3 separate regions of the Homo sapiens genome follow, and all the other regions are linked to region 1. Evidence: promoter capture Hi-C in human tissues and cell types (Jung and others, 2019). All regions are on one chromosome and are shown on one strand. The core of a region is centred on a gene start or on the middle of the fragment in contact, and the rest is flanking DNA. Distances in the headings are between cores, read along the strand shown. Region 1 holds the start of DDIT4L (DNA damage inducible transcript 4 like). Region 2 has its middle 66 kb from the start of DDIT4L. Region 3 has its middle 95 kb from the start of DDIT4L.

What was found. Contacts are between HindIII fragments. The study calls those that stand out against the background at their distance.
Region 2: a fragment that was not itself captured here is called in contact with the fragment with the promoter of DDIT4L in region 1 in 2 of the 25 tissues and cell types used here (pancreas and spleen).
Region 3: a fragment that was not itself captured here is called in contact with the fragment with the promoter of DDIT4L in region 1 in 2 of the 25 tissues and cell types used here (H1 embryonic stem cells and dorsolateral prefrontal cortex).

What each region holds. Positions count from the first base shown.
Region 1 is chr4:100,189,114-100,191,813 of GRCh38, reverse strand. DDIT4L (DNA damage inducible transcript 4 like) reads left to right here and starts at 1,346. Exons shown (of 3, transcript NM_145244.4): 1 at 1,346-1,511; 2 at 1,782-1,921. The coding sequence starts at 1,831. It overlaps DDIT4L-AS1 (DDIT4L antisense RNA 1), which reads right to left and starts at 1,781. Exons shown (of 5, transcript NR_125924.1): 1 at 1,740-1,781. The HindIII fragment of the contact is 5,141 bases long and covers 1-2,700 here.
Region 2 is chr4:100,255,602-100,258,301 of GRCh38, reverse strand. No RefSeq gene overlaps it. Among named protein-coding and RNA genes, the nearest start is that of DDIT4L, 66 kb to the right of the region's middle. The HindIII fragment of the contact is 7,611 bases long and covers 1-2,700 here.
Region 3 is chr4:100,284,191-100,286,890 of GRCh38, reverse strand. No RefSeq gene overlaps it. Among named protein-coding and RNA genes, the nearest start is that of DDIT4L, 95 kb to the right of the region's middle. The HindIII fragment of the contact is 3,637 bases long and covers 1-2,700 here.

The sequences.
Region 1 (2,700 bases), core at 97-2,596:
AGCTGGCTTTAATTTCTGCTGCTCTGCGTCCGAATGTCCTCCCACTGATCTGTTTATCACACCCTCTATACCCCTTCTGTTGTTGTTTTTCTAAGAGTTTTATGCCAGGACAGCTGAAACTGCCTTTCAAGGTTCTAACCTGCAAATCCTTCTACACATAATCCTAGAGGGCCTGGGAGCCAACACTGGGATCTCTACTGTAGGAACAACCTTCTCCCTCCAGGCATCCCCTAACGCACCCCAAGCTGACTCTCTGAACAGATCATCTCCTACTGGCACACCAAAGCGAGAAAACCGTGGCTTAATAACTTTGGAAGAAAAAAATCAGGTTTGGCTTCTTGCTCATGGGCTATGCGGGCATGTTGCCTCTTTCCAGGGCTCCTCTGCCTCTCTGTGTGTTCCTGTGCAGGACCGCACGGAGCCCTCACAGGGATTATCTGCTGATCCCCAGCAGAATATAAAACTCTTTATCTTCAGTCTCTGAAACCTCTTCAAAATATCCCAAACCAAAGATCCTCCCAACAGGGCTCGCCAGAAACTTCTGCCTCCGGAAATGACAGTTGCTCTCGATGCACGGATAGAGGAGTACCTAAGATCCTACTAATGGTATTGTGTGTTTCTTGGCAAACTCCCGCTCAATTCAAGCTCCCCGCGCTCTGGGGCAAGGTCTAATTAGAAGAGTGCCAGGCTCACCCTTCCTGCGAAGAAAACGCATTAGCCACAGATGTAAGTGCACGAAGAATGCCAGGGAGCCACGGAGTGCGTGGGGTCATTAAGGCCCTTCTTAAAATGCTGGCGAGCCTTCGATGCGGGAAAGGAAAACTAGATCTGACCGCTTGCAGCAGAGGAGGATACAGAAACCCTGGGAGGCAGAGTAGAGTTGACTGGGTTAGAGGCCAGAAATAAGTGCATAAATGATGCTCAGTGGACGTTGCAACAGATTTAAGCCAAGTGTTCAGGATGACACAGCAAAGCCCCAGGACAAGGAAATGCACAGATCGCTTAAAGCTTCCCGCTGCCGGGAGCAGCCTGAGTGTGAAAGCGCGGACGCTCGGGGAGGGGTCGCACTGAACAATCAGGTTCAGGCTTTGACGAGTCGTGCACCCGGAATTGCGGTCCCAGTGGCCCGAGATCTACCCTGGAAGCAACAGGTGTCCGCTCTACCACAGGCTTATCCTCAACTCCCTGTGGCTAGGCTCGGGCTCCCTGGAAGTGTAGAGGTTGAAAGGGGACCAGACTCTGGAGGGGAGGGGCGGGGCGCTGGCCGGGGAGGGGCGGTGCAGGTGGGCGGGCCTGAGCAGGGTGGGGACTGGACCTATAAAGTTCTCGCTGCCCCGGAGGCTATGCTACTGCGAGGAGCCGGCGCAGGGTGGCCCGGGAGGGGTGAGCAGGGTGCCGCTGGCTGCTGGGGTCTGCAGGTCACCGAGTCCCCAGGAGAGGGGACTCCTAAGAAGCCACCTGCCTGTGTTTACCCGGCAGCGAGCGCGCAGGCCCCCGCGAACTCCTGGCAGGTGAGCGAAGCTGCGGCCTTGGTGGGGGCAGCGGGGCCGGGGGGCGCTCCGCGGGGCAGGTCGCTTCCAAGTTTTGCGAACTGTTGAGTTAGTTTCAGGTTGCGGCTCCGCTCCCAGGGCTTTGTCAAATTGAGTTGCAGAGGCCGGTTCCACCCCTTTGGCAAAGGAGTTCCTCCGCTAGTTCGCTCCCGGGACGCCGGGCATTTTAGGAGCCTCTGCACGACTCGCCTGCTTTTGCAAATCCGTCTCTTCTCGCCTCATTTTTTCCAGCGCTCAGGAAAGGCCGTTGCGCCTCGCGAAGGAAACAGAGCCGTTGACCATGGTTGCAACTGGCAGTTTGAGCAGCAAGAACCCGGCCAGCATTTCAGAATTGCTGGACTGTGGCTATCACCCAGAGAGCCTGCTAAGTGGTGAGTGTCCCCGCTGTCCACCCTTCTCCCCTCCCAAGGTCGGTGCCTCTGGATCTATTGGGTGGGCGGGCTTTCGACTTCCTCCCCTACCTCTATGTAGGAGGTGCCACAAAATCCATCTGAGGAGACTCCTTTCCAAATTTTCTAACATCTTCTCTCCATGATAGAAACAAAAGTAGCAAAAGTAGAATACCCGAGGGCTGCATCTTTCTAGTCTGGTGCCAGTAGGCCCCTTGGGATTAAGTTCCTTATCTTACATGATTGTGAAGAACACAGTTATGTGTGTTTTAGCAAATGTATTTACCCTGTAATCAATATCGCCCCTCCCCCTGAATTCCGACGCACCTATTTGCCAGGTATTCCTCACTCTCCCCTGACTCCAGGGAACTACTGATCTGATTTTTATCATTCCAAGTTAGTTTTGCCTTTAGGTAAGTGGAACCATACAGTAGGTATTCTTTTGTGTCTGGTTTCTTTCCCGCAGCCTAATGTTTTTGAGATTCTTTTATGTCCGTTGCTTAAATCAGTGTGTTCGTGTTTATTGTTTATTACTGAGTAGGATTTTCAGTCGTGGATATATCCATTATTCCATTTTTAATGTGAGAAGGAAACTGTTGAACAGCAGCGGTGCTTGACTTGCTGTCATTTGGAATTTTAACAGCAGTTTCTAGGTGAACACACTGCTCTGACACTAAAGAGCTGTAAGAGCATAGATAAACTGCTTAAGCTCTTCGTGTTTTTCTCCTTTCAAGGTGAAGTGGTTGATGACCTAATTTACA
Region 2 (2,700 bases), core at 148-2,647, 66 kb before region 1:
CTCCTCTCTTGTGCTAAGTGTCATCTATGTTATCTCATTTAATCTTCACAACTAATTGATGTGATCAGGTGTTGTGAAATACAGTGAATGCAATCATTTGATAAGGATTTATTGAGTGCTTACTAGGTTCTGGGCCCTATATTATGCACTGGATAAACAGTGGACAAGAAAGACAAAATCCCTACTTTTGTGGAACTTCTATTGTCTCGGGAGAACAGAAAACAAGCAAAATAACTATTTCATATATATATATGTATATATATTTATTTATATATATGTATTTCATATATATATGAAGGTGATCAATTCTATGAAGAAAATTAAAATAAAATATGAAAAGGGGGGAGGAATGCAATTATAAATGGAGCTGGCATCAGGGAGGTGTCACTGAATGAATGACATTTCAGCAAAAACCTCAAGGAAGCAGGGAGCTAGCCACATGAGTCAGTGAGGCAAGGGGCTGTTCACATGAGGAAGTGACAGAGCTAGCTACACCTAGGAAGGGAGGGAGCTAGCAACATGACAATGTGAGGAGATAGCCTTGCTGAGTCAGGGAGGGGCCTGGTCACACTGAGGAAGAAAAGGAGAAGCCACCTCTGTGAGGAAGTGAAGGAGCTAGCTGTACCGAGGAAGTGAGGAAGCTGGCCACACTAATGAAGTTAAGTAGCTAGCCATACTCAGAAAGGGAGGGAGATAACCATACCTGTATCTAGAGAGAGGACATTCCAGATAGAAGCAATCATAAATGCAATTATCCTGAGACAAAACATCCCCAGCAGGTTTAGAGAAAGCAAGCAATGTGTAAAATAATGCCATTTCTGTAAAGTATGTGGTGTGTGTACAAAGAGGTACACGAAGAAATATTTACTAATAGAAATGTATCTCTGACTTGTAAGATTTCAGTTACTTGTTATCCTTGTCTTCAAATGTTCCGATTTGTTTGAATTCTTCCTAATGGTGGTGTATTATTTCATAATCATAAGAAATGCTTTTTTTCTTTATGGAAAAAAATTGAATTGGCGCATGTTCACATATGTATTTAGTGACTCAACAGACTGCTAACTCTCTCTCTATCCATTCTTCCTAAGTAATAAACACCCCAGTATACATTATCTACTTGCTCACTTAAACAGTTTTAGTTTCTAACAACTACTTTACCCAGACTCTTTTCCTGCTAGGCATAGGCATGTGAGTAGGTTTGTCAAATAATCTGTAAGTGAAAGGATTATGGATGATTCAAGATAAATGGCCTTAATGGTGGGCCCTTCATAGGCTTTTCCACCTTCTCTTCCTACTGCTGGCCTGGAATCGGACATAATCACTGGTGCACAAACACTTTCTTGGGACATAAGGATGAGGGTCTTGTCCTAGGGATGTCAGAAACAACTTCATAAAGCACCTTACCAGCCCACTCGTGCATTAAGACTTCTTTCGTAGCAAGAATAAGATCTTACATAATAAAACCACTCTTATTTTGGTGGTTTTCGAACACTTGCAGCTGAATTCAATTCTAGCTAATGTTATACACAAGACGGTATTCAACCTATGTCTCCTTTGACCATATTTAGTGCTCTTGCCATTATGCCACAGTTGTCCCTTGCACCAGAAGCAGATCTTGGAAGAGCAGATAAGTAAGTTGAGAATTTGGGTTGCACCAAAACTTGAGAGAGCCACGTGCAGTTGTGTGCTAGAGGAAATATTCAAAAGGTTATGGATCAACTAGAAGCAATTAGAAATAACAGAATTTACTAACAAGCCAAATTAATATTTCAAAAGACCAAAGCTTTCCTTTATACCAAGAATACCCAGTTAGAAAAAAACCAATAGTAGCAAAATTTATAAAATAACTACCTAAGAAATAAAAAAGGAAATGTGCAAACTTACAAGAAGAAAACCACAAAACTTTAACAAATGAATAAAATGGGCTAAAGAGATAGTCTAAATAGTTCTTTAAAAGTAATTACAAAAGAGAAAACTCAAATATTATAAAAAAATAAAAGTCCCTTCTTTACAATAATAAAAGATACTTAAAAGTTAAAGTACTTATAGATGCATAATATTGATGCAGAAATTAACAAATAGATTAAAGGAAAAGAGTACAGCCCAGAAGCAGATTCATATGTACATGAATAGTTTATGTATAATCAAAGCAGCACTTCAAATTAGAGGAAAAATAATGAATTATTTAATCAATGATATTGAGAAACTATATTCATATGGAAGAAAATAAGGTTAGAGCCTCACCTCATTCCAAATATTAAAATAAATCTCAGGTTGCTTAAAGTTTTAAATATAAAAAAGCTCAAAAAGCACTAGAAGAAAATGTACAGAAAATATAACTAGAAGGAATAGAATGCCTTTCCAAGAAAGACAAGAAACCCAGAAGCCATAAAGGAAAAAAAAAAATGTGAACAAGACTGTATAGACTTTAATTCTGTTTGACAAAGTTGCTGTAAATATGTTAAAGGACAAACAGCAAATTGAAGAAAATATTCTAATATGGAAGTGGACAAAAGCTAACTTACCTAACACACACAGAGTGTCTTCAAATCCATAAGGAAAAAGCAAAGGTAAAAAATATAAACATGTAACTCAAAAAAAAGAAAATAAAAATTCTCAAACTTACTAGTAAATATACAAGACATGAAAATTAAAACAATATAGCATATTTTACCTATGAAATGGGCAAAACCTTAAGAC
Region 3 (2,700 bases), core at 142-2,641, 95 kb before region 1:
ATTAAGCTTGTTGACCCTGCACATCAACACTCAGAAACCTGCTGCCACAAAGATCTGGTCCCAGCACCGTAAACTGATCTCTTCCTCTGCAGCAAGAGCTGCACACCATGTAATCCTCCCAGGTACCTGCCTGCCATCTGGCCTGAAGGCCCCCTCCCTCCTTGCAAGCAGTATTGTAGCAACCAAATGACTTTTCAGCAACAACACACTCTCCGCTCTAAAATGTATTTTCTTCACTTGCAACATTCCTAATACTGATGGGGAAGTTTGGCTTAATGAGCCCCAAAAGGCAGCCTTTACATAGCTTACTGAATTCTAATGAGATAATTAAACCAGATAGCACAAATCTTTATTTATTTTTGCAGATATAAAACAAAGAGTGATATTATGTTATGTGCAACTAACATTCCATAAGCAAAGCATTTCCAAACACTTCACAAACTTAATAATTTAAAATTAAGCCCGAACTCAGAAATTAGTACTTGCTTTGGTCCAGATTCTGGAGTTGTCATATGATATTTTATAAGAATTTACAGAAAATAAATACAAAAATCTTCATTCATGCATACATTTAGGGAATAAATATTTATTCCACACCCACTTTTTGTGCTAGCCACTATTCTGGGCATCCAATTGTAGTAAGGTTCTAAGATCAATTTCAAGTTATGATTTAAATATTTAAGATAAACAAATGGTAACAACAAATATATATATATGTATATATATGTATATATATATGATTTAGACTAAAAAATATAGACTGACAGTTTCTATTTTTTGTTTATTTTCCCTGACCTCACCATTCCATCATGGGTAACCAGTCAGAAATGTGCACTTTTTTGTGTGCTTTTTGTTTTACGTATTTTATGACTCTTTCAACTGTGGAAAGATTTGCAAAGTAGAGTAAGAATTAGTTTTCAGGAAGTAGTTTTGACATGCAAATCAAAAGCAGAGGCCTATCAATATGGCTGCTTCTTCAGTGCTGAAGCCCTTTTCATAAGAAAAAAATTGTTTAAACTTAAGGTAAAAAGCACTGGAATTTAGTGCATTGCTATTCCAGAAAACTTTTCATAAAAAATGGGACAATTTTCATTGTCAAAAAGTTTTCTTAAAACATTGAGACAATAGTTTTTTTGTGAAAGCATGTTGGTGATTGCTAGGGCTTGGGGAGAGAGGAGAACGGGAAGAAGAAGAAAAAAAAAACATTGAGACAAAAAGATTTAAAGAAAACATTTGTAACCGGGAAAAACTGGTTAATTCTTTTTTTCTTTTTTTTCATGTAAACTAAAAAATACGTAACTTTCTCATACAGAGTTTTTTCATTTCTTTTGTACAAATGTTTAAAAGATTGCTTAAACTACCCTATATGTTTTTAATTTTCCATCATTTTCTATCTTAGTTGCCAAAGCCTTGTCATTTGTTCTCTTTGGGAAGAGGACTGAAAATGAGTTAGATGAGAAAATAAGCGAGGGTTAAATATTGCCTCTTCCTCTTCTCTTCTTTCCTCATTCCTAATTGATTTCTTCTGGGAATCAGTGGATCCTATTGATATTCCCAGGACAGGCTTCTGGCAAGTCAGTGTTAACCAACAGTATCACAAAGCAATGCTGGACTGCTCTATACAACAGCAAGCACCAGATGGAAAAGCGAAACACTTAAACATCTGGAAATTCTCAGAAAATTGTTTCACCTGAACAAATTATCTGAATTATTAGAAATGAAGCTTTTGCTTTCCACTTGGATGTGTGTTTTTATAATAGTTGTTGGGCTAGAAAGAATGTCTTAGTGAACCTACAATGACCTCCTCAGTTTAGCTTTCTCCAAGAGGAAGACATAAATTAACCAAGGTTGATTGGGACAATAGTATTATAACATCAACTATTTTGATATCTTTCATCACAGCAGGTAGACATGCAAGAAAGACAGGTGTGATGAATGCCCTATCTTGTGCCATTCTACCACGTTTCTCTGCCTTAAACATTATTAGCAATTTTAGCCACACACACACGCACACACACACACGCACGCGCGCATCTCAGAGATGTGTTTAAGTCAAATGTCAATAAGAGAAGATTAAGTTATTACATTTAGTGACAATTTCCACTATAGAATTTACCAAAGTACCTTTTCAACTATAATGTCAGCTTAAGTTGGACAAATTTCACTTTGGAAAATATTAACAGTAACCATATTTTTGGCTGGAGTTTACTGACATCAAGACACTCTACTGATGAGGACTATACATACCAGAAAGCTCTCCAAGGAAGACCCTGTATCCAATTTTGGGAATCGGAGGGCCCGAAGGTGAGCCTGAGGAAGGCAAGTTCTGAAATCTGAGCCCTGAGTCACAAATCCACATGCTGATCTGAGTCAATGTTAAGTGATCTAGGAAGCCAGGTGCAGTCTCAGGGAATGGGGCTGGGAGCAACTAGACTAGGGAAACCAGAGAGCAAATTATGGCTAGAATCTGGGCCCAGAAGGAAAATGCAGTGAGGAGAAACCCAGTCAAAGGCAAATGAAGCAGATGACTATGAATATTGAATAAGGAAGCTGCAATAGGATCCAACTGTTACATGGCACATGGCAGCAGGCCGTGCATTCACACCAGACACCGAAGACTGGGTTTCACACTACATTCACTGATAAGAACACAGCCCCGGCTCCTGCCAGTCCCACTCCTCAATGGTTCAAAGAGCAGGC